5 separate regions of the Homo sapiens genome follow, and regions 2, 3, 4 and 5 are each linked to region 1. Evidence: promoter capture Hi-C in 16 types of primary human blood cells and fetal thymus (Javierre and others, 2016). All regions are on one chromosome and are shown on one strand. Each heading gives the region's core, a stretch centred on a gene start or on the middle of the fragment in contact. The rest is flanking DNA. Distances are from core to core; before and after follow the strand shown.

Region 1 (5,736 bases), core at 1,228-3,727:
AAATGCAGGGATTTTTGTTTGTTTATAAAAATATTTATAACATAAAGATAAAAAGATACCTGTTTTCTCTTTTATGATGCTATCTATGACCTCCCTGGATTTCTGCACCCTCTTCTCAGCTGTTGGGGTGAGCTAGGAAAATGTTGATCAGAACTGAGCACGTTAAAGACTTCCACGGGCAACAAAAATGGCCAGAGGACATCTTTCCCCTCCCTCCCCATACCTTTATTTTGTAGCGTCCCTTTCCCAAGTTGACCAGATCCTCCGTGGTCAGACGGTCTCCATCTAACTCGATGTACTACACAAAAGAAGGGGATCTCAGTGAGTCTGAACAGCTTGATTATTCTAACCAGAGTAGGGACACCTCCAACAGAACCAAACTGACATTTCAGAGATCTGATCATTGCGTGAAACATGAATATGCTAAATAAAAATGCATCTTGCATAAGAGGAGGCTTATTGGTGCAAAAGCATAATGCCTTTCCAAGCCCCCTTTCCCCACTACAGAGCTGGATAAAGCCCTGTGGTTGGTTGGTTTGTTTGTTTTGAGGCAGAGTCTCCAGCCCAGGCTGGAGTGCAGTGGTACAAACATGGCTCACTGCAACCTCTGCCTCCTGGGTTCAAGCAATTCTCGTGCCTCAGGCTCCTGAGTAGCTGGTATTACAGGTGCACGCCACCATACCTGGCTAATTTTTGTACTTTTAGTAGAGATGGGGTTTCACCATGTTGGCCAGGCTGGTTTCAAACTGATGACCTCAAGTGAACTGCCCACCTCGGCCACCCAAAGTGCTGGGACTACAGACATGAGTCACTGCTCCCGGCCAGCCCTGTTCTAATTGACAGTGTTTTCTCAGAAGTTTTCCTGGCTTTCCTCCCTCTTAAATAAGGGGCCTTAATTTTCTGAAGAAAAAGAAAGTGGTTTGAAGCTTACCTTTTCAGGCTCCCGGTACTTGCTGTATCTGTATCCAGGTAAAGGAACATATAGGGTGGTGTGGAAAAACCCCCAGCCCCACCATCTGCAGGAGCCACCCCCAGAGCAGACCAAAGAGCCTGTGGGAAAGGATACAGATAAACTCCTTCTGGTTGAGATGGAATGAAGTCAGGAGACATGGCATCACCCTCTATAACTAAAACAATGCACGGGAGACTCGTTACAGATCACATTGTACAGCCATGTTCCCCCTGTTAAACCAAGGAACGGCCCATCATTGGCCCATGAATTCTATAGAAATGGCTGCTTTAAAACTGCTTCAGATGGTTTCATGTGGTCTTAGCATCTTTATGTAGGAGGAGAGCAAAAAGCAGAAAGGTAGGTGTCAGGGCAGAGACCAGGGGTTTAGATGAAAGTTCAAGACAGAATTCCACTTCCATCCCCATTCCCAGCTTTATTTTCTTCAAAATCTGAACTGATGCTATGCTGCCGGCCTCCAGTCTGGGGGTGGGGGTGGATTCTTTCGAAAGGCAAAATAACCTCAAAATGATTCAGTCACTGCAAAGGGATTCAGACCTGCAGCCTTGAGTACCAGTCTAGTCTTTGTTACTTACTAGCTGCTGGAGTCTGGGTAAGTTACCTCCTCTCTGATTTCTCCTCCATCAGAGGTGGAGGAGAATCCTACCCATCTCACAGGGTTGTGTGAGGACTTAAGATCCCCAGAGGCGTGGCATGTGCCTGCACAGGGCCAGCCTCGGCAAGCCTGACCTCTGCTCATCATTTTCCCTGAGGTGGGGGTTCAATGCTGCAAAGACTAAGCCAGGCCAAACCGCACCCGTTCGCGGCCCTCTCCTGCAGCCACTCACCCACTTCCACGAACTCGTTGTTCTCTAGGGCCACCTCGAGCCGGTCCTCGTTGTCCAGCAGGCCCAGGCCCTTGCACCGGCGCACAAGGAAGTGCGCGTCATCCACGGAGGTGAAGCCACCATTGTCGGGCTTATTCTTGATATAGCGCCTCACGGCCTCCCGGCCCAGCCAGCCCACAGTGAGCTGCGCGTCCTGGCAGGGCACTGCCAGCCATTCCCCACGTACGTGCACCGTGTATCTGGGCATGGCTCCGCTGCAGCCTGAGGTCCTCAGCTGGTCACAGGAGGGGAGAGCTTTATGCAGGAGTGGCTACCGGGGTGTGGTCAGCTGGAAGGATGAGAATAGACTTTCAAACCACTCCCCCTCCTTCACCTTTACTCATTCATGCATTGGACAAATATTTATTGAGGTACCTGCTGTCCCTTTGGTTTTTGTAGCCGAGCAGGGGCAGGAGCAGGGGATGCAGACGGGTGAGCCTCCTGTCCACTTTCCATCCAGACCTGCTGCCAGAAAGGCCTGGGGTCTCCCACCCTGGGAGGTGCTGTTCTTGTCCCTGATGGCACCTACCTGCTGCTGGCCCCCTTTCTTCAGGGTCCCCAATTTCTCTCTCTTCCCTCGTTTCTGTCTGTGTTCTCTGCCATTAAGGGCAGCTTATAAACACCATGTTCCTGTCTTTATCTGAGATTACTCAACTGTAAAACGTGTTCTGTGGGCCAACTGTGACACTGGGAGTGTGGCAATCGTCACTCATTTGTTTATTCCACAAACATGTATTGAGCAACTACTTCCTGTCACCAGTAAGGTTTTCTGAAGCTTTCTTTCCACCAGGGAAGACTGCAAAGGCCAGAGATCATTTTCACAACTAAAGGTCGTCATCTGGGCAAATGAACCACTCTGACTTGGAGATTAGGGGCTCAGACAGCCGTGGATGAGAGTCCAGCTCTACTACTTATTAGCCTTGATTAGGTGAGTATTACCCTGTATTTCCTTATCAGAAGGCCTAGGGGCTAACTGCCTCCTTCCAGTATGTGCAGGATTTACCTGTGATCAAATCCTGGCTCTGCCATTTGCTAAGTGTATGACTTGTGGGCAAGTGATTTGACTTCTCTGGGCCTCAGTTGCCTCATCTGTAAAATGAAGATAATGGTAATGATGATAGTATATATGTCAAAGGGCTATTGGGAGGATGAAGTCAGTTCATATATGTAAAGCCCTCAACACAACACCTGGCATAGTGGAAATATTATAGAAGTGTCTGTGATTACTAGTATCTGGACACCAATACTCCATGTAACTATAATGCTTTATAAATGTTCTGTATGAATCATAAAGCTATAAAGTTCCATAAATGCTCTTTCATCTTGGCACATGGATATCCCTCACCCAATTAAGCTTCTTCACCACAGATAACTGCTCCCTGCACCCGCCTTATTACCATTGGTATTAAGGAACTCTGGATAGCATGATTACGGCATCAAAGATATGCAGATGCTATTTTGACTAAGCAGCACTTTCATCGTAAGCCAATTTTTAGAGATTTGATTATTGCACTAGAAAAATCCTGAAAAGTCTGTTTCCACTAAATCAGACTTCTGTTGGGAAGAGAGACATGGTTGCTCAAGAAAAACACCTATACTCATACCCAGAGTCCCTCTCATCTGCTGACAGCTTCCCAGGAAGCGTACAAATAGCTACCCTTCCTTGAGCCTTATTGAAACTTGCTCTTCAGATACCCACACCATGACTGCACCCTGGAATTTGTCATGACCTGAATTTGACACACTTAAGAAATCACCCTGGAATCTGTCACGACCTGAATTTGACACACTTAAGAAATCTGAAATTCCAATATTCCACCTTCTGACCACAACCTTCCAGCTGCCCTTTTACTCTAGTCACTGCCAGCCTTGGACCTGACCTCCAGTCAGTCTCTTCATCCCTCCACTTCCCACCAGCATCCTCACTTACTATCCTAGGAAGCTGGTCCCTAGTCGCTCACTGGACCACTCTTTCTTAAGCACTCTGAGATTCCTTTGCATCCCTAAACTTATGTCTACACTTGGAATAACACCCATCCCCTTAGTCATCACAAAAAACAGCCATCTCTTGGAAGGATTGCTTAAGCCTAGGCAGTCAATGCTGCAATGAGTTATGATTATACCACTGTACTCCAGCCTGGGTGAGAGCAAGACCCTGTTTAAAATTAAAAGAAACTGTCATATCTGTTCACCCAGGCAGAAGACACTGATAGAGAAAGTCCTGTGATCACATAGTTTGATGGTATTGCCCTTTTATTCCATCCAGCCCACAGTGACTTTCCAAAACTTTGACCCCTCTGCCAGGACCTTCTCGACATCCACCTCTAATTCTCAGAAGGAGACCTTACTTCCTACATCTGTGAGAAAACTGAGGACTGCACATGTGAACCACCTTAACCTTCTGCCCCACCCCCCCCCATTCATTCCTTGACTCATTTAACAAATATTTTTTCAACACCTGTTATGTAACAAGCTCTATGCGAGGTGCTGGGGATGAAATAAATAACAAACACGCTCTACATTCATGAGGCTTACTGTCTGGTGATGGATAAAGCTGTATAAAGATGACTAATAAGAGGTCTAACTATCTTCATGCTGCAAAACAACCCAAACTACTGCATGCTCCAGTTGACTGTCACTGCCGAGACCAGCTTCTGAGTAATTTCAGCCCAGGCATCAGACTAGTGAGGGAAGGAGCTTCCAGGTGATACCACCTCCCAGCCATGTAAGTCACCCCCAGCAGTTTGAGGATTCTAAACTCAGGCCCTACGCATTGTGGAGCAGAGTCTTCCTTGTTATTCTTTCTCCAGAAACGCACTTTCCAACTTCCTTTGCCTGTCTAGATCTTTCTTACTCCTTAAGCCTGTTTAGGCCTTTTCTTCTCCAGGAAGCATTCCCTAAATTCTTCAGTTGGGTTAAGTGGCCCTTCTCTGGGATGCCTTAGCATAGCTCTTCTTTAGTATTATCTAGGAAATTACTTGTCTGTGTTCATCCATAATTATGTATATATCCGATCTGGCACAAAGACATTTAGCATATGCTTACTAGCTGAACTGAAGAAATGTGAACTGCACCGAGCTGGCCCCTAGGTAAACCAGCAAGCAGGATTAAGTTTGTCTTTAGCGCCCTCTACCTTCTTCACAGCACCCTTCCATGCCACCCTTCAAGCATCCCTTGTCACAATTCACTTTCAGTATCACTAAGTGATAACTAAAAACGACATTAACTTACAGCTTGTCTTGTAAGCTCATAGGGCAGAAGCCTTAAAGAGCAGTATTTGGGTAAATGGATTTGCTAAAGTCTAATCTTAGAACATGATCTTATGCCAGTGATTTGAGCTGAACTCCCTTCTCTGTATTCTTGGCAAGGAAGGCAAGGGAGAGCAGAGCCTGGAGAAAGAATCACACTGCAGCATAGATAAGTGACCAAGAGGACAGAACGAGGCGGGTGGATTGCTTGAGCCCAGGAGTTCGAGACCAGCCTGGGCAACATGGCCAAACTCTTTCTCTACAAAACAAAAATTAGCCAGACATGGTGGTGCATGCCTGTAGTCTCAGCTACTCCAGAGGCTGAGGTGGGAGGATGGCTTGAACCCAGAGGCTGATGCTGCAGTGAGCTATGGTCATGCCACTGCACTCCAGCCTGGGCGACAGAGTGAGACCCTGTCTCAAAACAAAACAAAACAAAAACTGCTAGGGAGAGTGAGAGCCAGGGAAAAGTCAGGATTCCGGGAATAGGCAGGAATATGTCTCTTCCATACCTGTCCCACCTTGGGTGTTCACTCCTATTGTAACTTTAGTCACTGCATTAGCACTTTGAGGGGTTATTTGGTCAGGACACCGCTCCCCACCCCCACCCCATGCCAACAATTATACTCTAAGACACCATTCCTCTTACACA
Region 2 (5,736 bases), core at 1,064-3,563, 880 kb before region 1:
GTTTTCAAATGGGGACAAATTTGCCCCCTAGGGTACATCTGGCAATGTCTGGAGACAGTTGTGGTTGTCATAACTGGGGAAAAGCGGGGGCTACTGGTGGCTAGTGGTTAGAAGTCAGAGATGCAGACTGGACTCGGTGGCTGATGCCTGTAATCCTAGCACTTTGGGAGGCCAAAGGGGGTGGATCACTTGAAGTCAGGAGTTCAAGACCAGCATGGCCAACATGGGGAAACCCCATCTCTACTACACACACACACACACACACACACACACACACACACACACACACACACACGTCAGACGTGCTGCTAAATATCTTATAATGCAGCCCTGCAACAAAAAAAAAAATTATCTGACCCCAAATATCAATAGGTCTGAAGTTGAGAAACCTTGGTTTGGATAAAGATAGTCTGTAAATAAGTAATATGGTATATAGTAGTTCTTGTAATACAGAAAAAGAGGTAATAGAAGAACCTATATTTAATAAATCTTTAACACCAAGGTAAGTCATGGAATTTCAAGGCAATACTTCCTTCTCTGTTGAGAAATGCTGGATGGCCTCCCATTACCTGTTAAATTAATACAAATTCCTTTCTGGAATTTAAAGCCCCCTGCTACATGGTCCCTATCAATTTTTCTCTCTCTCTTGCTACTGCCTAAAATGGGCCCTTTGTTCTGACTAAATTTGATCTGTGCAACCCCTTAAACACTCCCCATGTGTCCCCCTGGCTTCACACCTTTTGTCTCTAATAGTCCCTTTTTCTCCATCCCTTCCTCTGTCTCGCTTATACAAATTCTACTCACACTCTTCAAGGCTCTTCTTAAATGCCCCTTCTCTTACAAAATTTCCATTTGAAAGAAACGTTTTCTGCCTTTGAATAACACATGACACAGCAGTCTCACTTTATGCTTCTATCATTTTCTTTTTCATTAGACTCAAAGCTCCTTGTGAGCAAGTCATCTGACACATCTTTCTCTCACATAGCACTTAGTCAGGGGCTTTGCACAAAGGGGACAATAAATGCTTACTGAATAAAAACAGTTCACTTACTCATTCAAGACAGAGTCTCACCCTGTCGTCCAGGCTGGAGCACAGTGCTGCAATCATTGCTCACTACAGCCTCAAATTCCTGGACTCAACCAATCATCCTGCCTCTGCCTCCCAAATAGCTATGACTACTGGTGTGTGCCTCCATGTCTGCTTTTTTTTTTTTTTTTGCAGAGGCAGGGTCTCGCTTTATTGCCCAGGCTGGTCTTTAACTCCTGGCCTCAAGCAATCCTCCTGCCTTAGCCTACCAAAGTGCTGGAATTACAGGCAGTGAGCCACTGCACCTGGCCAAGAATATATTATTTTTTAGATAGGATTGTATTTTAGTTGAGGTAAAAGGCAATAAATGCTGAAACCAATTCTAATGCCAGTGGGAACTGAGGAAATGAAAGGAGGAAAGGTGTGTTCAGTGACTGAATATATCTTTATCAGACCCAACTGCTAGTTAGTACTATTATGGAATAGATACAACTTCATCTCATGGATTTATGACATCATGCTCAGAGGAACAAAGGAAAACAGGGGTATTGGTGCCAGATCTTCAAACATAACAGATGACACAAACACGCGCCCAATTGCTGAAACTTCGTAAGTCTTTGAGACAGTGATCTAAGAGCCTGTGTGAGTCTAGACGTGCACCTTATAAATATCCAGCACTGGCAATAAGCCATGGTGAGATGTTATGTATAAACATATTAAGCTTCCCTGCGCCATGGCATAGGTTCTATCTTGCCAGAGACCATCGCTAGCAATTTAGATCTTAATCTGAATGAAGAGAGCATCCCCCGCAAAATATAAAGGAAAAATGAAGTGGGCACACACAAAAAATAAAAAATTCCCAAATTAACAAAATACATAAGTTATATGTTACACTTAGCCCCATCTGGAGATGAAAATAAATATTCTCACTCTGACCCCACTCAGAATGCATTCAATATATTACATAATCCGTGTCTGGTGAGTGCAAACATTTAACATTTCTATGGCTGACAGTTGACAGGGTTGGGGAGACAAACTTACCCTACCCTCCCTATTAGATGTTCTCAAACCCTAAGCTACCTCATTAATCAAGTGATTTTCCTTAAGCTGTTAGATAGTTACTATATCTTGTTGTGGGAAGGAATGCAGATTTACCTAAATATTGGACTCATGGCGACTTCCTAGTTTGTCTTAAATTTCTGTTTTTTAATACAGAAGTATATCCATGAAAACAGAGACATTTCTCTAAACCAAAAGGGCTCCCCAGAAGATGTCCATATTAGGAAATCCTGACCTCAGAATCACTGTGCTGAGCCTCATAAACTTCTAAGTTGCATTTTCTTTGCTTGTACTCAAACATGAACTTTTATGAACACAGTTGAAATACACTGAGCAGAAAACCCACCGTTAACACGTTGCAACATCATGCTATTAATCAAGGAAGTAACGGAGTTAGGTTTACCCTCCTTGCCAATTTTTAAAAATATCTTTATGGTCTACAAAATCCAACTCTCCAACTTATCCATCCATCCATCCATCCATCAACCCATCCATCCATCCATTCATGTTTTTAGGGCATCTTCTTGCAGTATATCTTTTTGAGAACTTTTACCTTGGCAAAGAGAGCAGGGCCTGGATCTCCTTAAACAGTTAAGAATCACCTGGGGCCTTAACTGCAGCATAAGAATGTGACTGATCACCCTGAGTCAGATGGGAGGAACAGGAAACCAGTAGCTGCCCCAGTAACTGTTATAACCCAGGTGAAACCCAGGAAAGGAGACCAGACAGACACGCCTATATTGGTCATAGTGAACCACCTATTACCTATCACTTAGGACCTGGTATTCGGCAGAAGCTTTCCTAATAACAACGAGGAGAGCAGTCATTTCAGTTTGCCATGTTAGACTGGTAGTATTCTATGACCTTTCTGCTCCTGCCAAAACAAATTGAGCATTATTCAAAACTTCACTAATAAAACTGCCTCAAATGCCACTGAGGTTATTTTTATCAAAGGAAAAAAAAAGCAGATGTTGGTTCAGCATGTAGGTACACTACAAAATGTACTCTCTGGCCACCAGGTGGCATCACTGATTAATAAAAGTTAATTAACTCCATCACCATCACCCAACATGAGTAGCAAAAAATTAACTGGAACACAACATACTATGTGCAACTTCTAGGGATATGCAAGCTGCCTTTTTTTTTTCTTTCTTTTTTTGGAGGGTCTCGCTCTGTTGCCTAGGCTGGAGTGTGCAGTGGTGTGACCAATGCTCATTGTAGCTTCAATCTCCCAGGCTCAAGTGGCTGTCCCACACCTCAGCCTCCCAAGTAGCTAGGACAACAGACCTGTACTACCACGTTGGGCTAAGTTTTTGATTTTTTGTAGAGACGATGTCTCACTATGTTGCCCAGGCTGGTCTTGAACTCCTGAACTCAAGTGATTCTCTCACCCTGGCCTCCCAAAGTGCTGGGATTATAGGTGTGAGCCACGGTGCCAGTACAAGTTAATTTTGTTCTCATATAAAATGCCCAAGGCCACCGGGCGCAGTGGCTCATGCCTGTAATTCCAGCACTTTGGGAGGCCGAGGTGGGCGGATCATGAGGTCAAGAGTTCGAGACCAGCCTGGCCAACATGGTGAAACCCTGTCTCTACTAAGAATACAAAACTAGCTGGGCATGGGGGCGCATGCCTGTAATCCCAGCTACTCAGGAGGCTGAGGCAGGAGACTCGCTTGAACCTGGGAGGCAGAGGTTGCAGTGAGCTGAGATCGTGCCACTGCACTACAGCCTGGGTGACAGAGCAAGACTCTGTCTCAAGAACAACAACAATAACAAATTCCCACGGCCAGGCATAATGGCTCATGCCTGTAATCCCAGTACTTTGGGAGGCTGAGGTGTGCAGATCACTTGAGGTCAGGAGTTTGAGACTAGCCTGGCCAATATAGTGAAACCCCATCTCTACTAAAAATATAAAAATTCACCAGGCATGGTAGTGGGCACCTGCAATCCCAGCTACTCAGGAGACTGAGGCAGGAGAATTGCTAACTCAGGAGGTGGAGTTTGCAGTGAACCGAGATTGTACCTCTACACTCTAGTCTGGATGACAGAGCGAGACTCTGTCTCAAAAAAAAAAAAAAGAAAGAGAGAGAGAGAAAGGATGAGGACCCAATATATACTATATCTTGTTGGAAATCTAAGTTTTCTGTATAAGGGTTCCCAGGGAGCCTTACCACCACTCATTGATTACCTAATCAATACATAACCAACTTAGAGCAGAAACTAGTCGGAAGTCCTGTTAACCATTAATAAAAATTAGTCATCTGTGGGAATCTGGGACTTTTTGCATTCAACACCCAGTCAGATTCCTGGACCGTGCACTGAGAAATGTTTGGCAGCAAAGCACAGAGGAAATGAGTGTATAGGAGGGATAACATTCCAAAGTCAAGTGTTTTGAATTTGAGGACATGTCTTGCTTTGTATTTTTCAGATTTCTTCTTTCCTCCATAAATATGTAGTGGGATCAGCAACACATACAGAATTATGGGATCCAGAGAAAAGTAAGTCTAGTCAATATGACTTTGTAAAGTTTTATGAAGTTTCAGATTTTGCAAGAAACAACCTAAAATTAGCCTGACTTGTGAAACAAAGTACTGATCATTTTAAATACCAAAAACAAGCATCAAGTGTCAACTTACAAAACATACTGACACTTCAAGGCAGCTTGGCGAAGTGGTCAAGAGCCCTTGCTCTGGAATTAGAAGACAGAAATTCCTGGGCCAGGTGCGATGGCTCATGCCTGTAATCCCAGCACTATGGGAGGCCGAGGTGGGAGGATACAGCCTGGGCACATAGTGAGACCCATCTCTAAGTCTTTAGATGATGATGATGATAATAATAATAAAGATAGAAATGCTTACTCTGCCTGGTCCAGCCACATCTAGTTGAGGCATGGGACTTTGGCCATGCCCCATAGCATTTTTGTGTGTTAATATCCTCATGCATAAAATAACTAGGCTGAACCAGAATGAAAACTGTAACGATTCTCATTCCAAAATATCATGAAACATATTTTGTTGAATAAAATAAAAAATGAAAAATTTGAAAAATTAAATAATGAGGAAAACTTAAACTATGAACATCTCTGAGAAAAACAATTACTAAACTATTTCCTTGTTTTTATAAATGCTTGATTTGACTTAAAAACCATCCTAGGGGTATATCATACAGTACTTAGGTGTTCTATTAGCTCTTTAGTGCATTTAATTTGTTTTGGCTATTTACATAAGTAGGATGGCAATACAACCTTATCTCCCCATATAGTCCTGCCTTATACCTGCTGTCCAGGCATAATTATAAATACTGTCCTCTTTTACTTTTGTAAGTTAATGGGTTTGGATTTATAAGTAACACTGATTAGCACTGTCGGCTGGTGTGGTGGCTTACACCTGTAATCTCAGAACTTTGGGAGGCCGAAGTGGGCAGATCACCGGAGGTCAGGAGTTTGAGACCCGCCTTGCCAACATGGCAAAAACCTGTCTCTACTAATTAGCTGGGGGTAGTGGCACACGCCTATAATCCCAGCTACTCGGGAGGTGGAGGCAGGAGGATCGCTTGAACCCAGGAGGCAGAGGTTGCAGTGAGCCAAGATTGTGCCACTGCACTCCAGCCTGGGTGACAGAGCAAGACTCCATCTCAAAAAAACAAAAATA
Region 3 (5,736 bases), core at 1,530-4,029, 560 kb after region 1:
AACAGTTACTTTTTGCTTATAAACTTCTTGACAGAGCAATCGGTGGAATAAATTTGAATTGCATGTTAACCTCTTTGCCAAATGGATCATCAGTAATTGACCACTGCTATGCCAAGGTAAGAATGGAAGAGTCTTAAATTAGATTGAAGTTTTACTTAACTGGGAAGAAAACTGGCCTTGAAAGTAGGTAAGTAAAGCATGACTTGTGTTGGCTTACCTCTCATAGGCCAGAAATATATTTCCCTCTTCCCAGAAGAGAGCTAGGAGAATGAGGAGTCTTTGAATTTGTTAATGAAGAGGACACTGATGAATTCTAAGGGCATATTTATTAGTGTTTAAGCAAACTGCAAAGGGCTGAGAAGTGAGCAGAATGTAATGGTTACAAATAAGATGATGATAACTTGAGTGATAATAGTATACAGCTATTTTTGTGTGTTTTGATAACTATATTTCTTTTTATTTCAACTCTGTTGGACCAAAGCGTACCCACCATATAGATGGAGATACTTACAAACCACTTGCCTCAAATAGTTTCATGATGGATTTGCATCTTGAACTAATTCAAGCTCAGCATCGAATAGCTGTTGTGCTTCTGGACAAATTGCAAGGTAGTAGTCACTAAAGCAAGTAACCATTCTGAATCAATTTTAAGCCAGACTCCAGTACAGAATCAATTTAATTTGAAAACTGTGTTCTTGTTGACTTAAGTTTTCAGATAAATTTCATTTTTTTCTACTTCCCTAATTAATATCAATAAAAACATAATTAAATCTTTCCTTATTGCTTTACACTTTGCATATTAAATCAGTTAGTAAACTTCTTAAAAAGTTAATTATGTTTATTTGTGTTATAGTAAATTATTTTTTGTTAATTCAACCAAGCAAACATTTACTGAGTACCTACTAAAATCCAGGCATCGTATTAGGCTAGGTGCCAATAAGACAGTCTACTTTTGAGCTTCTAGATGAGTAAGCCAACCATATCAGTTGAGGTTGATACATTTTGTAATAGGGGTGGGCTCAGAGTATTATGGGCACACAGAAATATCTATATCAAATAAGAAAGTCAGAGATGAGTTCCTGGCAGGGGCGTGTAAAGCATTCAAATAATATTGTATATAGAGCTAAATAGATTTATTCAAATGCTGGTTAATTTAAGAGTGAGCAGTGTAGACACACTGCTGATTGGTGCAGGAAGATGAAAAAAATATTTATACTGAGAATTCTAGCCAATGCAAGAAGATAAGAAAAATAAAGATATAAGGATTGGAAAAGAAGAAACAAAACTGTTCTTTCCAGATTATATGATTGTCTACCTAGAAAATGCAAAAGAATCTATCAGCATATACAAAAATAATAATATATAATACATAATATATAATATGTAATATATAATATGTAATTATATTTCTATACAACAGCAGTTAGCAAATATAATAAAAAGACATCATTTTTATATCAAAAAAATCTGTAAGGTACCAAGGGTTTCAATCTAACCAAAGAGCTACAAGTATGCAAAAAATTATAAGACTTTACTGAAAAATGTTAAAGAACTATATAAATGAAGGTAGATTGTGTTTATTGATAAGAAGACCAAATAATCAGAAAGATTATTCTGATTTCAGTTTTATTCAAATAGATCTATAGACTCAATGCAATTTCAATAAAAATTCCAGTAGGATTTTTTTGGGTAGACCTTTACAATCTTTTTACAAAATGTAGGTAGAAGACATAAATAGCTAAGACATTCCTGAAGGAAAAAAAAATCAGGTGAGTGTAGGGGATCTCGCTCTAACATAAGTCAAGATTTATTTCAAAGTGCTAGAATACCTCATATTCATTGGATAATTGGATATCCATATGGATAAAACCAAATTACATTTCTTACCTTCCCATACACAAAAATATCTTCCAGATGCACCAAAGAGTTAAATGTAAAAAAAAAATCTTAAAAACTTTTAGAAGAAGATATGGTAGAATATATTTCTAAGCTTGGAGTAGGGAAGATCTTCTTAAACAAGATTCAAAAAGTGCTGATCCTAAAAGAAAAAAATGAATACATTAATACATTTGGCTGCATTAATATAAATAAATTCTCATCATCAAAAAATTTTAAAGATAAGGAAAGCAAAAAAAAAATAAAAATAAAACCCCAAAACCACACCACACCTAGGAGAAATATTTGCAATTTATATTTCTTTTCTTTTTTTTTCAAATTAAATGCTTTTGCTTTTCCCTTCCAAGTCCCCCATACATTTTTCACAATTGTATTAGTTTGCCATTATTGCTGTAACAAATTACTACAAACTTGAGTGCATTGAAACAACACAAATATGTTATCTTACAGTTCTGGAGTCAGAAACCTGAACTGCAGCTCACTGAGCCAAAATCAAGGTGTCACATGCACATGTATGTTCATTGCAGCACTATTCACAATAGCAAAGACATGGAATTAACCTAAATGCCCATCAATGGTAGACTGGATAAAGAAAACATGGTAAATACACACTATAGAATACTATGCAGCCATAAAAAGGAACAAGATCATATCCTTTGCAGGAACATGGATGGAGCTGGAGGCTATTATCCTTAGCAAACTAATTCAGGGATAGAAAACCAAATACTGCATGTTGTCACTTATAAGCGAGAGCTAAATGATAAGAACACATGGACACATAGAGGGGAACAATAGACACTGGGGCCTTTCTGAGGGTGAAGGGTGGGATGAGGGAGAAGGTCTGGAAAAATAACTAATGGTACTAGGCTTCATACCTGGGTAACAAAATAATCTGTATAACAAACTCCCATGACATGAGTTTATCTATGCAACAAACCTGCACATGTACCCCCGAACTTAAAGCGAAAGTTAAATAATAAAATCAAGGTGTCAACCGAGCTGTATTCCTTTCTGGAGGCTCTGGGGGAGAACTTGTTTCCTTGTCTTTTCCAGCTTCTAGAGGCTACCTGCATTCTTTGGCTCATGACCACTTTCTATCTTCAAAGGCAACGATGACCAATTGAATCTTCCTTCTCATGCCATCTCTTTGTCTAGTGGCAATTTACTAACGATTAGCATGAACAATGTACAAAAATTCCAAAACATCAATAATAAGACAAATAACAAGACAATAAGCAAAAGAAAGAAGGAGAACTTCATAGAAAAGGAAGAAGTTATGGCCAATATAATTATTTTGTAAAGCTAAACATTAATCTAAATTATGACCCAGCAATGTCACTCATAGGTACATACCCTGTAAAATTTCTTGAACGTGTACACCAACTACAGATAGAAGGATGCTTGTAGAAGCAGTGTTCATAATAGCAAAAAACTGGAAACAACCCAAGTGTCCATTAATAGAGAATTGATAAAGAAACTGTGATATATTCATGTAAGGGAATATCACATGGCAATGAAAATGACCAACGTGGATGAATTCTAGAAACATAATTTTTGTTTTAAAACAGTAAGTTTTAAAAGACTACATTCAGTGTGATGGGAGGATGGGGTCAGAAAAAAATAAAATGAAAGACTACATTCAGTAGGATGTTTTAAATCAAGCTCAAAAATGAAAGCTTGGGATTCTTAAGGCTTATTATATATTATATATAATAAGTAACGTAATAATTGATAAAACTGTATATTAAAAAGTGACCTGCATATACATAAATTTATCATATAAGGAAAACTATAGTTATCAGGTATGCAGGTAGTCCATAAAGTCTGGAAACATAGACATATGTCCTTTGAAGACATTATGTATAACTCATCTGCATTTCCAGATTTTATTGACACTCTCTATCTATAAAATTAAAAAGAATGACCTTGAGTTTAGGACAGTGGTTCCTTTGTGGAGGTGGCAGGGAGATGGCGTAGGAAGGAAAAGCATATAGGTAGATGTAAGTTACTGCTAATGTTCCAGTTCTGGTGCTGGGTGGTGGTTTACATGTGTTCATGATATTAATGTGATTTAAAACATACATACATGATAAATATATTTTTGTATTTATAAAATAAAATATTCAAAGGTAATTTAAAAATTGAAAGTTTTCCTAGGTTGACAAAAGAATTAACATTCAACATAGTACTGGAAGTCCTAGCTAGAGCAATCAGACAAGAGAAAGAAAGAAAGGGCATCCACATTGGAAAGTCAGATTATCCTTGTTTGCAGATGATAACCATCTTATATTTGGAAAACCCCAAAGACTCCACAAAAAACTATTAGAACTGATAAACAAATTAAGTAAAGTTGCAGGATACAACTTTACTGGAGGAATCACATTACCTGACTTCAAATTATACTACAGAGCTATAGTAACCAAAGCAGCATGGTACTGGCATAAAAACAGTCACATAGACCAATAGAACAAAATAGAGAACCCAGAAACAAATTCACACACCTACAGTGAACTCATTTTGACAAACATACACTGGAGAAAAGACAGTCTTTTCAATAAATGATGGGAAAACTGGATATTCATATGCAAAAGAATGAAACTAGACCCCTCTCTCTCTCACCATATATAAAAATCAAATCAAAATAGATTAAAGACTTAAATCTAAGACCTCAAACTATAAAACTACTCCAAGATACCATTGGGGAAAATCTCCAGGACATTGGTCTGGGCAAAAATTTCTTGAGCAATACCCCTTAAGAACAGGCAACCAGAGCAAAATGGACAAATAGGATCATATCAAGTTAAAAAGCTTCTGCCCAGCAAAGGATACAATCAGCGAAGTAAGGCTGGGCACTGTGGCTCATGCTGGTAATCCCAGCACTCTGGGAGTCAGAGGTGGGTGGATCACTTGAGGTCAGGAGTTTGAGATCAGCCTGGCCAACATGGTGAAACCCAGTCTCTACTAAAAATACAAAAATCAGCTGAGCGTGGTGGTGCATGCCTGTAATCCCAGCTACTTGGGAGGCTGAGGCAGGAGAATAGCTTGAACCTGGGAGGCGGAGATTGCAGTGAGCCAGGATCACTCCACTGCACTCCAGCCTGGGTGACAGGGCGAGGCTCCATCTCAAAAAAAAATTTAATTATACATTTAAAAATAACTAGAAGAGTATACTTGAATTGTTTGTAATACAAAGGATAAATGCTTGAGGGGATGGATACCCCATTTTCCATGATGTGATTATTATGCATTGCATATCTGTATTAAAACATCTCATGTACCCCATAAATATATACACCTACTATGTACCCATAAAAGTTAAAAATTAAAAAGTTAACTGTGGTAAACTGTTCCCTCCAACTTTTTATTTAACAATTTTTGAGCCTTCAGAAAGTTGAAAGAATAGTGTAGTGACTATCCACATAACCTTCACCTAAATCCACCAATCATGACCATTTTGCCACGTTTACTGTCTTTCTCTTTACATGCACATATAAATATGTATATTTATACATCTATGTATAAACATCTGTAGATGTATATACCTATTATATCAATATCATATTATGTATGTGTAGAGATATATACATATACATGGACATATCCATAGGCTGAGAAGTTGCAGACATTATGATATATTTTACCCCTGAAAACTGTAGCATTTGTCAGCTAATAATGAGGACATTCTCTCAAATAACCATAATACCATTATCACTCTGAAGAAAGGTAACACTGATATAATAATATTATTGATTATATAGTCAATTATTTTTTAGCATCCAATTGATCATTTATTTACTTTTATGTAATGTGATTTTGGTGTCCCGTCTAAGAACTCCTTAC
Region 4 (5,736 bases), core at 1,187-3,686, 530 kb after region 1:
GACAAGCAGTCCACCCATCTCAGCCTCCTAAAGTGCTGGAATTACAGGTGTGAGCCACTGTGCCAAGCTGATATAATTTATATTGATCTTGAATTCAGAAACCTTGCTAAGGTCAATTGATATTTCAAATAATGTATTAGTAGATTTTTGGGGGGACTTGTTTTGTATATACAGTCATCTATGAATGACTTATTTCTGTCCAATCCTTAATCTTTTAATTTCTCTTTTCTTGCATTTCTTGATGGTTGCACTGGCTAGGATCTCCAATAACACATGGGAAGAAGTGGTGATAGCAGACTCCTTTGTCTCATTTTTTTCCTCAGTTGGAAAGCTTTCAACATTTTGCCATTATTTGAGATATCTACAGAATAATTTTTATAGATACCCTTTTGCAGATCACAGATGTTTCTTGTATTCCTGGTTTGCTAAGTGTTTTTTTTTGTTGTTGTTTTTAATCTTGAATAGTTTAATTTTAGCAAAAGCTTTCTCTGAATTTATTGAGATTTACTGAGTCGATCAAATGGCTTTCTCATTTATTTCTATTAATGTGGTTGATTTTATGGATTGCTTATTTCTGCTTCTCTGTTGAAGGGAGAGACTTTTCTTTCTTGTAATGTTATTTTTAGGTTTCGCTCACAAGGTCATATTAGCCTCATAAAATGAGTTGAGAAGTATGCCCTCTTTCTCCATTATCTGTAAATGTTTGTGTCATATTGGTGTTATTTCTTCCTACATGTTTAGTTGAATTTTCTGGTGCAGCCATCTGTACCTGGAATTTTTTGTATGGCAATATTTTAAATGATGAATTCAATTTCCTCCATAGATATAAAATTTTTCAGATTTTCTTTTCAGTATTGGTCAGTTTGCTTTCTCTCTTATTTCATCAATTTCACCAGGGGTCCACCAGTTTCATTAGTCTTTGCAAAGAAACAATATTTGACCTTGTTGATCTTCCCTATTGTATGTCCATTTTCCATATTATTGATTTTTGCTCTTCATTACTTCCTTTATTATACTTTCTTGGGTTTGCTTTACTGATTTAAAAAACTTATTGACTTGGAAGCTTAGATCATTGATTTTTAGGATTTGTTATTATTTACATTAAATGCATATTAAGACATTTGTTCTAAATTCAGCTTTAGCTATGTATCTGAAGTTTTGATATATCATATCTTTATTACTATTGGAGTAAGAATATTTTCTAATACGCAGTGTGATTTATTCTTTGATATATGGGTTCTGAACCAAAATATGGGAGATTTTCTAATTATCTTTTGGTTACTGATTTCTATGTTAATTATACTATGGTCAGAGAGCACATTATGTATTATTTGGAACTGTGAACATTTGTTAAGATAGGCTTTATGGCCTAGCACATGACCAGCTTTGGTAAATAGTCTGTGTGTACTTGAAAGACTATGTATTTTTTGTTGTTGTTGGATGCATTGCTTTATATATATGTTGATTAAGTTAAGCTAGTAAATCATGTGGTTAGATCTTCTCTATCCCTACTGATAGTTTTTGTCTTTTTATTTTATGAATTACTCAGAGAAATATGTTAAACATCTGCTATGCATTTCTGTTGGTGTGGAATTGCAAGAGCATGGGATATTCCCATGTTGCTTCATTGGATACTGTTTTACAAAGTGGTTTTTTTTAGTTTGCACACCCATCAACATTTTATCAGGGTTCCATTACTCCAAATTTTCTCTGACACTTAGTATTATCTGTCTTTCTCATTTTGTCCATTTTGGTGTGAATTCAGTGGTGTTGCAGTATAAACTTAAATTTCTCTGATGACTAATAAAGTTAAACACTTTTTCATATACTTTTTTCACTATTGGATATCCTATTTTGTGAGGTGCCTATTTTAACCTTTTGTCCTTTTTTCTGTCGATTCATAGGAATTCTTTATCTATTCTGGATATAATTCCTTTATTGAATACATGTATTGCAAATATCATTTCTTACTTGATGGCTTGCCTTTTCATTCTCTTAATGATATCCATTGGGGAACAGAAATTCTTAATTTTAATATAGTCCAATTTATCAATATATCCTATATAGTTGATCCTTTGTGTGTTGTGGTTAAGAAGTTTCAGCTACCCCAATGTCGTAAATATATTCTCGTATGTTTTCTTCCATAAGTTTTATTGTTTCTTCCTTAAGTTTATGAGGTCTATAATTAGAAATTAGATCTTTTTTGTTTATACGAAGTAGAAATCAAGATTTATATACTTCTATATGTATATTCAGTTGACACAGCACCATTTATTGAAGATAACTTCCTTTAGTTGGCTGCAGTATCCCTTAGTCATAAATTAGGTGGCCGTATGTGTGTTGTCTGTTTTTTCACTCAGCATAATTCTCTTGAGATGTATCCAGGTTGTGTGTATTAATAGTTCACTTGGCGGGGTACCATGGCTCATGCCTGTAACCCCAGCCCTTTGGGAGGCCAAGACGAGCTGATCCCTTGAGCCCAGGAGTTCAAGACCAGCCTGGCTAACATGGCGAAACTCTGTCTCTACTAAAAATACAAGAATTAGCCAGGCGTCATGGCATGTGCCTGTAGTCCCAGCTACTTGGGAGGCTGAGGCAAAAGAATCATTTGAATCCAGGAGTCAGAGGTTGCAGTGAATGGAGATCACACCACCACCACTGCACTCCAGCCTGGGGACAGAACAAGACTCTGTCTCAAAAAAAATTTTTTTTCACTTGTTACTGCTGAGTATTATTTTATGGTATGGATACACCACAGTTTGTTTAACCACTTACCCTTTGAAGGACATTTGAATTATTTCCAGTTTTTGGCTACTAGAAATAAAGCTGCTATGAACAGTTGAGTACAAGTTTTTGTGTGAAGGTAAGTTTTCATTTCTCTGGAATAAAATGCTCAACAGTGCAATTGCTGGATTGGATATATGATAAGTTCATATTTAGTTTTGTGAGAACCTGTCATACTATTCTCCAGGGTGACTCTACTATATTTCCACCAGCAATGTGTAAATGATCCAGTTTCTGGACATCCTTGACAGAATTTGGTGTATCATTACTTTTTTATTTTAGCCATTCTGATAGGTGTGTAGTAATATCCCACTGTGACTTTAATTTGCATTTCCCTAATGGCTAAAGATGTTAAACAGTTTTTCATGTGTTTATTTCCCATCTGTATACTCTCTTTTTCTCTAGTGTCTTTTGTTCACTTTCTAATTGGATTGTTAATTATTTCTCTTGAGTTTTGAGAGCTCTTTTTATGTTCTGAATACAAGTCCTGGTCATTGCTTTTTAAGACAGAAAATACCTTTATTAAGATTTTTTTCTCCTCATCATTACTTCCCATTTTTCATTGCTTCTTTCTAAATTCATTTCTTTTTGCTGAAATACAAACTCTAAGAATTTTGAAGTAGTTTGGCTGGATATAATAGTTTACTTACAAGTTTCTTTAAGATTTTGATGCTCTTTTTTATAATCTTGTATATATAGTGTTTCTGTTGAGAAGTGTAATGTCAGTTTAAATCTTGTTGTTTTATAGATGTATCTTTTACAATTTTCTCTTTCTTATGACATTCTTACATTTTATTCTACTGGATCTAGGGGTGGGTTTAGTAATGCAGCAGATACTTTGAGGTCATATCTTTCTTTCATTTTTTCATGTTACTTTTAAATTTCTTTCCTTATATTCATTATTTAAAAAAAAAATCCTTCAAGGCATTGAAGATGCCATTAGACAGATGTTAACAGGATAGATGTTCATCCTCCATGTCTTATTTATTTTATTCTTTTCATGTCTTTATTCTGTTGCATTCTGGGAAGCTTCCTCTATCTGATTTTTCAGGTCACGAATTTCATCTTTGATTCTCTCTGTTCTACTCTTCTGTTTACCTATTTAATTATTTGTTTCAACAATGATATACTTTTTTGTTATTTTTGTTGTTTGTTTGTTTGAGACAGAGTCTTGCTCTGTTGCCTGGGCTGGAGTGCAGTGGCACGATCTCAGCTCACTGCAGCCTCTGCCTCCTGGGTTCAAACGATTCTCCTGCCTCAGCCTCCCGAGTAGTTGGGACTACAGGTGTGCACCACCACGCCGGGCCAATTTTTTGTATTTTTAGTAGAGATGGGGTTCCACCATGTTGGCCAGGCTGGTCTCAAACTCCTGACCCCAGGTGATCTGCCTGCCTTGGCCTCCCAAGGTGCTGGGATTACAGGCATAAGCCATCGCACCCGGCCATCAATGATGATGTACTTTATACATTGAATCCACTTGGTTCTTTTTTCACAGCAGTTGTTCTTGCCTTATGTTTCTAATATCCTCTTTTATTTTTCTGAGAGAACACTTTCACTTAAATTCTTGTTTGTGCTTTTCCATTTTCTTGCTTCTTGTGGTAAAGGATGCTTCATTTGTGGTTTTTCTTTCAAGATGTTTTTGCTTTTAATTTTCTTTTCCCATGAGCTTTCCTTCTTGGAACAATTAGCTGACTTGGCCTTAGTGTCCACCTGAGAGGAGGGAGAAAAGCCTAGGGTTAGCTCCTATGCCTTTAGGTGAGTTTAGTGTGTGGGTGTGGGCACATGTGGGTGCACATGTGTATGCGAATGCCCATCTGAATGCAGGGAACTTCTGGTGCCATAGTTTGGGCTCTTCTCTTCCTAAGAAAAATACAAGTTTTAGATAAGAATTTCCTTGACTTTCTTCACCCAAACCCCCAAATTTACCCTCATGCATATTGATCCTTTCCCACTATCTCTCATTTAAATGGAGGAGAGGGGATGTTTCTCTTTGTGTCTTTAAGCCTAATCCCTCCAAGTGTCCAAGTGGTCCCATTATACCGTGCCCTTTTTTTTTGAGACAGGATCTCACTCTGTCACCCAGGCTGGAGTGCAATGGTGCGATCATTCTTCACTGTAACCTGGACCTCCTGGGCTCTAGTGATCCTCCTACCTCAGCCTCCTGAGTAGCTGTGAATACAGGCATGTGCCACCATACCTGGCTAATTTTTGTATTTTTTGTAGAGGTGGGGTTACTCCATGTTGCCCAGGCTGGTCTCGAACTCCTGGGCTCAAGGGATCCACCTGCCTTGGCCTCCCAAAGTGCTGGGATTACAAACATAAGCCACTGTGACTGGGCCTCCGTGTTTTCTTTCAGCTTCCTCCCTATAGGTCTTCTTCTTGGTACAGCCAGATTTATTGACGGTATTGTCTGTTTTCATTGTTCCTAAGTATTTTCTTTCTACTTATACAGTGGGCAGACTCTAGCACTCTACTAAGAATGTCATGGACAACCTTATTGCTCAATCCAGGGGTCACTTTCAGTTACTTTCAGTTACTTTTCTTTTCTTTCTTTCTTTTTTTTTTGAGAGTCAGGTTCTTGCTATATTTCTCAGGCTGGACTCAAACTTCTGAGCTCAAGTTATCATCCTGCTTCAGCCTTCTGAGTAACAGAGACTATAGGTGCACGCCAATAAGCCTGGCTAGTCCTTTTCTTCTTTACTTTCTGTATCTATGTGTTACTGTTGAGTACTCCTTTCTTTCTAAACACTCACCTTTGCAGCCTTTATTCCCTCTGCTCTTCTCTTAAATGTTGGTGTTTCTTATTATTCTGTGCAAGGCAACATGATCCATGGCTGAATCTACTATTTACTGTGGATGTATAATGATGACTCTAAAAGCTCTATCCCCATTTTAGATCTCTTTCCCAAGTTTCCAACCTGTATCTAGGAACTCTTGCTCATTCTGTGTTTG
Region 5 (5,736 bases), core at 830-3,329, 510 kb after region 1:
GTCAAAGCCAGAAGGGGATAGAGAGAGGAGGGGCTGGGCTGCTGAGATGACAGAGGAACAAAGACCTGAAGGAGTTTGGATAGTGAAACTTCTGGGTATCTGGTGGAAGGGCATTCCACCTGGGGGATCAGCAAGTGCAAAGACCCTGAAGTTTTGACAGTTTGGAATTTAAGTAGTCAAAACTATATTTGACTGAAAATGTCAAATGTGCCTTGATAACTTATCAAAATACATTTGACCTTTTCAGTTAGACATTTACTCTATTTACTTTTAATTGACTGTTATACATACACACTCTTGGTTTCTTCAAATATTTAACCAATCTTGGTTTTTAAATAAAAATTTAGGCTGCACACAGTGGCTCACACCTGTAATCCTAGCACTTTGAGAGGCCAAGGCAAGCAGATCACCTGAGGTCAGGAGTTCAAGACCAGCCTGGCTAACATGGTGAAACTGGGTCTCTACTAAAAGTACAAAAATTATCCGGGTGTGGTGGTGCATGCCTGTAATCCCAGTTACTCAGGAGGCTGAGGCAGGAGAATTGCTTGAATCTGGGAGGCGGAGGTTGCAGTGAGCCAAGATCATGCCACTGCACTCCAGCTTGGGTGACAGAGCAAGTCTCCATCTCAAAAAAAAAAAAATCTAATTGGGTATATGGATATTAAGTAATACCTTACTTTTCAACTAAAGTGAACCCAACTAATTTAGACCCTCAACTAGATTATTTTGATGGTGGCCATTTTTAATGAAAAGGACTCACAAGACCAGGCAATAAACTCCTATTAGGGACTTGGTTAAAAATGAAACAGGCCCGGCATGGTGGCTCACGCCTGTAATCCTAGCACTTTGGGAGGCCCAGGTGAAAGACCAGCCTGGCCAACGTAGTGAAACCCCATCTCTACTAAGAATACAAAAATTGGCCGGGTGTGGTGGCGTGTGCCTATAATCACAGCTACTTGGGAGGCTGAGGCAGGAGAATTGCTTGAACCCGGGGAGCAGAGGTTATAGTGAGCCGAGATCATGCCACTTCCCTCCAGCCTGGGCAACAGAGCAAGACTCCATCTCAAAAAAAAAAAAAAAAAAAGAACAAAGGAAATAAACTTCCAGAAATACCCTGAGATCATAAAGATTCAGTCTGTGTTCCATCTGATACCATTTACTCTCTGAGTCTGGCTTTTGCAGCAGGAATTTGTGAGCCATGCCAAGATCTTGAACTGTCAAAGGACTTAGTTACAGTCAGAACATTTTAGTGCTGGAAAGGTGAAAGGCACCTTTTTGAAATACAGAGGGCCCTTGTCATTCTTGAGGGCAGTCTCCTGAGGCCTTCCTCAGTTCCCCAGTTCCCCGTTACTGGCATGTTTATACAGGCTCCTGGCTTACATCCTCATCACATGTTTTTTGGACAGGCATGTGTTTCCTGTGCATATTTTTACTTGGTGACTATTTTTTTTTCCTGCAAAGAAACACTTAGACAGTTTTATTTTTAAAGATGAAGAGTAGAGGCCAGGAATGGTGGCTCACGCTTCTCATCACAGCACTTTGGGAAGCCAGATTACTTGAGGTCAGGAGTTCGAGACCAGCCTGGCCAACATGGCAAGACCCCTGTCTCTACTAAAAATACAAAAATTAGCTGAGCGTGGTGGCGAGCGCCTGTAATCCCAGCTACTTGAGAGCCTGAGGCACGGGAATCACTTGAACCCGGGAGGTGGAGGTCACCGTGAGCTGAGATTGCACCACTGTACTCCAGCCTGGGTGACAGAGCGAGACTCTTATCTCAAAAAAAAAAAAAAAAAAGAAATGAAAAAGATGAAGAGTAGAGGTCAACAAAGCCTCGTTGAGATAAGTCTGCTGAGCTTGAGCTGTTATTAGTCGAGTGGTTTCTTCCCCAGTGGATCTTCAGTGGAATGAATAACTGCAGGTGCTGGGGGTAGTCACATGAATAATGCCAAGTCCCTGAATGTTAAGGACCAATTGCATTCTCTATGAAATTTAGGGTACTATACATTTAAATTTAAATTTTATTCAATTTTGGGGGTCACTGATTTGTGTAATTGATGTTTATTATGCTTATAGTTGTGTTCTAATCAAGTAATAGATGTTTTGGTGCAGTTGCCATTTTCTCACAAACTTTTTATTTATTTATTTTTTTGAGATGGAGACTCGCTCTGTCACCCAGGCTGCAGTGCAATGGCGCAATCTTGGCTCACTGCAATCTCTGTCACCTGGGCTTAGGCAATTCTCCTGCCTCAGCCTCCTGAGTAGCTGGGATTACAGGTGCATACCATCACGCCCAGCTACTTTTGTGTTTTTAGTAGAGATGGGGTTTCTCCACGTTGGCCAGGCTGATCTCGAATTCCTGACCTCAGGTGTTTTGCCCCCTTCAGCCTCCCAAAGTGCTGGGATTACAGGTGTGAGACACCACGCCCGGCTGGGATTACAGGTGCACACCATCATGCCCAACTAATTTTGTATTTTTAGTAGAGATGGGGTTTCTCCATGTTGGCCAGGCTGGTCTCGAATTCCTGACCTCAGGTGTTTTGCCTGCCTCAGCCTCCCAAAGTGCTGGGATTATAGGCGTGAGCCACGGCGCCTGGCCATCAGAAACTTAAAAGTTTAAACCTGAACATAGAATTCATAATTGTTGAGTTTTTATGGTTACGAATATTAGATACTTTATAGAAAATATTTAGACTATCTGTTACAATTACATGCCTTTTTAAAGCATGCTACCATCTTTTGGGTATGTTTATAGATAGATAAACTGCTTGTATACAGAGAGAAGTATGGTGATGTTCCCCACTCCTCTCTTCAACCCTCCCTCCAGCCTTCTATCCTCTTTTAATTAATGGTCTGACACAAAAGCATGTGTCCTTACTTAGGTGTTGGAAATGCTATTTTTTCACTAGAATGCTAGTAGGACACACCTTGATAATAGGAAAAATGTTATATGAGTCTGAGAGTGAATATAACGTGCCCTGTTATGCATTATGATTTTTAAATTATTATGAGTTTCCTTGTTGAGTATTTTGCCATGCTGATTAAATATGTATTCTGATCTTATTTGGAGATAAATCTTTAGTTTTTAAATGATAAGGAAACCATGGGAACCAATTTTATATATATATATATATATATATATATATATATATATATATATATATATGTATATATTTGAGATGGAGTCTTGCTCTGTCGCCCAGGCTAGAGTGCAGTGGCATGATCTCGGCTCACTGCAACCTCCGCCTCCCAGGTTCAAGCGATTTTTCTCCCTCAGTCTCCCAAGTAGCTGGGACTACAGGTGCATGCCACCACGCCCGGCTAATTTTTGTATTATTAGTAGAAACGGGGTTTTACCATATTGGACAGGCTGGTCTTGAGCTCCTGACCTCGTGATCCTCCCGCCTCAGGCTCCCAAAGTGCTGGGATTACAGGCGTAGCCACTGTACACAGCTGGGAACCAGTAATATTTTATATGAATTAATGAAAGCACAGGGTACATAAATTATGCCACTAGAATTATTCTTTTGTTCATTATACTTCAAAAGTTAAATGGCCTGTAAAATGAGACTAGAAGATTCCTGTGTCAACATATTTAAAATACGGCCATGTTAATTATTTTAATGATTTTGTTTACAAGTTACAAGAAAAATTATGATGAGTATAACTCTATATACCATTATCAGACTTCCTCATAAGATCACTTGTTTTGGGAACTACAGACTTGAACCACAGAAATTGGAATATAAAATTTCTATCATTTGACTGTAAAACATGTTAACAATCGTTTTCTCCATCCAGGTACCATTTATATTTACACCATTTGCAGAAAACTGATGGTCATAGGTCAGTCTTCCAAGGTATGAAATGTACTGACAAAATATTTTCCCCTCTATTTCCTGTTTTATTTTTCTTAAGGCTTTCATTACACAGTATATTGAATGTTAAACAAGGAATATTTGGAGAATTATATAATATAAAATTTAGTAAATATATATTATATAGCTTTATTATTCTTAGTTTTGCTTTAATAGGGATCATATGTAAAAATATAGATGATTTAATGAAAAGAAAGGAAATTCCTGAAAATGTTAGTATTCTCTGTCTCTCAGATAGTCATGCTTGTCACGCTTGATAGTAAACATCCATCTGGTTGCTATAGCTTTAGGTAGGGTGACCATCCGTCCTGGCTTGCCCAGGAAAGTCCCGGTTTATGCCTGTTGTCCTGTTAGTAATTATCAGTAGTGCCCACTTTTACTAGTAAAAGTGGCCTGGGCCGGGTGCAGTAGCTTACACCTGTAATCCCAGCACTTCGGGAGACCTAGACTGGCAGATCACTTGAGGCCAGGAGTTTGAGACCAGCCTGGCCAACATGGCAAAACCCCGTCTTTACAAAAAATACAAAAATTAGCCGGACCTGGTGGCACATGCCTGTAGTCCCAGCTACTTGGGAGGCTGAGGTGGGAAGATTGCTTGAGCCTGGGAGGCGGAGGTTGCAGAGAGCCAAGATCGTGCCACTTTGCACTCTAGCCTGGGTGACAGAGCAAGACTGTGTCTCAAATGAAAAAAAAATAGAAAATTAAAAAAAGGTGTCCTGGTTTGGATGATAAACTATGGTTACCCCCTTTATGTCATGATACGGAGCTTGGATTTCATTCTGCTTGAAGTGCTTCCACTTCTGGCCTGCATGCTAATCGGGTGAATGCACACTTAAACTCTAACCCAGTTGCATGACAAAGGCAAGGAGACTTTATTTTATAATAAGATTCTTACTTACCAGTAGTCACTGCTCAGTGTTAGCTTGAGGAAGTTGCTGACACTTCTATTGACTTCCCTACAATGTTGGTAGCATTTTTGTCCACGGGAGACATATTTATTCCCTGTATTAGTTTTCCAGTTATTGGAATGTAGGCCAAGAAGGGCGAATATACTCCCGTTGAGACCCTGCTTGAGTTGTTGCTGGCATCTGAAACATGACTACTTTATTCTTTATTCCATACAGAACCTTACCCTGAATATTCTAACACTCAGGAGAGATATGTTTTTTCTTATTTCCTCAAAGCATAGCCAAGTATCTTAAAAGTTGACAACATCTGAAAAATAAAAATGGAAGTAAAGAAATTTGCATGCTCAATGGATAACATTAATTATGTGTTCTCTCTCTGTTTTGCTTCTCAAATTAAAAAACTCTATGACAGACAGTGACTTGAAGAAGCTCTGTGCCAGCTTTCTGAGTGTGAATTAAATTGAGGGGGGACTCTCCCAGGCCTAATGTAAACTTGGCCCGCAGACTACTGCAATGATGCTACATTCAGTTCCAGATGATTTCCTAAAGAGAATTTGCATACTCTGGTTGCGCTTGGTGTAACAACAACAAACATGGCTTCACAGGACCATCATAGTTTGGTCTGCTGCAGTGCTTGCTGCCAAAGCTTTGAAGGGCAGAAATGTCTGTGCCGACATTTGACTGTTAGTGTTTGTGCTTGTTAACACTGAGAGAATTTTAAAGTGACAGTCATCTTAAAATAATTTCTTATTCATAACCTTTGTAAGACATTTCTTCTCTGCCTCATATACCTTGAGTTTGTCTCTGATAAAATAAGGATAGTTGAGTATTTTGCCATGCTGATTAAATAGGTATTCTAATCTTATTAGGAGATAAATCTTCAGTTTTTCAACCATAAGGAAACCATGGGAACCGATAATATTTTATATGAATTAATAAAAGCACAGGGTACA

The links. Contacts are between HindIII fragments. The CHiCAGO score rates a contact against its expected background, and 5 or more counts as called.
Region 2: a contact is called between a fragment that was not itself captured here and the fragment with the promoter of HAL in region 1, in 3 of 17 cell types (naive B cells, total B cells and naive CD4 T cells). The highest score is 7.4, in naive B cells.
Region 3: a fragment that was not itself captured here is called in contact with the fragment with the promoter of HAL in region 1 in 2 of 17 cell types (non-activated CD4 T cells and naive CD8 T cells); the score reaches 6.5 in non-activated CD4 T cells.
Region 4: a fragment that was not itself captured here is called in contact with the fragment with the promoter of HAL in region 1 in 6 of 17 cell types (activated CD4 T cells, non-activated CD4 T cells, total CD4 T cells and 3 more); the score reaches 9.1 in activated CD4 T cells.
Region 5: a contact is called between a fragment that was not itself captured here and the fragment with the promoter of HAL in region 1, in 1 of 17 cell types (fetal thymus). The highest score is 5.3, in fetal thymus.

What each region holds. Positions count from the first base shown.
Region 1 is chr12:95,993,867-95,999,602 of GRCh38, forward strand. HAL (histidine ammonia-lyase) reads right to left here and starts at 2,478. Exons shown (of 21, transcript NM_002108.4): 1 at 2,212-2,478; 2 at 1,798-2,125; 3 at 1,067-1,127; 4 at 932-959; 5 at 224-298; 6 at 60-132. The coding sequence starts at 2,044. It overlaps LOC102723340 (a long non-coding RNA gene), which reads left to right and starts at 2,616. Exons shown (of 4, transcript XR_945237.4): 1 at 2,616-2,764; 2 at 4,465-4,561. RefSeq lists enhancers at 2,691-2,860, 4,085-4,379, 4,826-4,885. The HindIII fragment of the contact is 1,685 bases long and covers 925-2,609 here.
Region 2 is chr12:95,114,199-95,119,934 of GRCh38, forward strand. The region is part of intron 8 of FGD6 (FYVE, RhoGEF and PH domain containing 6); the gene reads right to left. Among named protein-coding and RNA genes, the nearest start is that of NR2C1, 43 kb to the left of the region's middle. RefSeq lists an enhancer at 542-1,275. The HindIII fragment of the contact is 1,134 bases long and covers 1,747-2,880 here.
Region 3 is chr12:96,554,195-96,559,930 of GRCh38, forward strand. It overlaps CFAP54 (cilia and flagella associated protein 54), which reads left to right. Exons shown (of 68, transcript NM_001306084.2): 16 at 1-116; 17 at 482-608. Among named protein-coding and RNA genes, the nearest start is that of CFAP54, 67 kb to the left of the region's middle. The HindIII fragment of the contact is 1,582 bases long and covers 1,989-3,570 here.
Region 4 is chr12:96,527,799-96,533,534 of GRCh38, forward strand. The region is part of intron 9 of CFAP54 (cilia and flagella associated protein 54); the gene reads left to right. Among named protein-coding and RNA genes, the nearest start is that of CFAP54, 41 kb to the left of the region's middle. The HindIII fragment of the contact is 2,750 bases long and covers 1,062-3,811 here.
Region 5 is chr12:96,509,188-96,514,923 of GRCh38, forward strand. It overlaps CFAP54 (cilia and flagella associated protein 54), which reads left to right. Exons shown (of 68, transcript NM_001306084.2): 5 at 3,799-3,857. Among named protein-coding and RNA genes, the nearest start is that of CFAP54, 22 kb to the left of the region's middle. The HindIII fragment of the contact is 6,696 bases long and covers 1-5,427 here.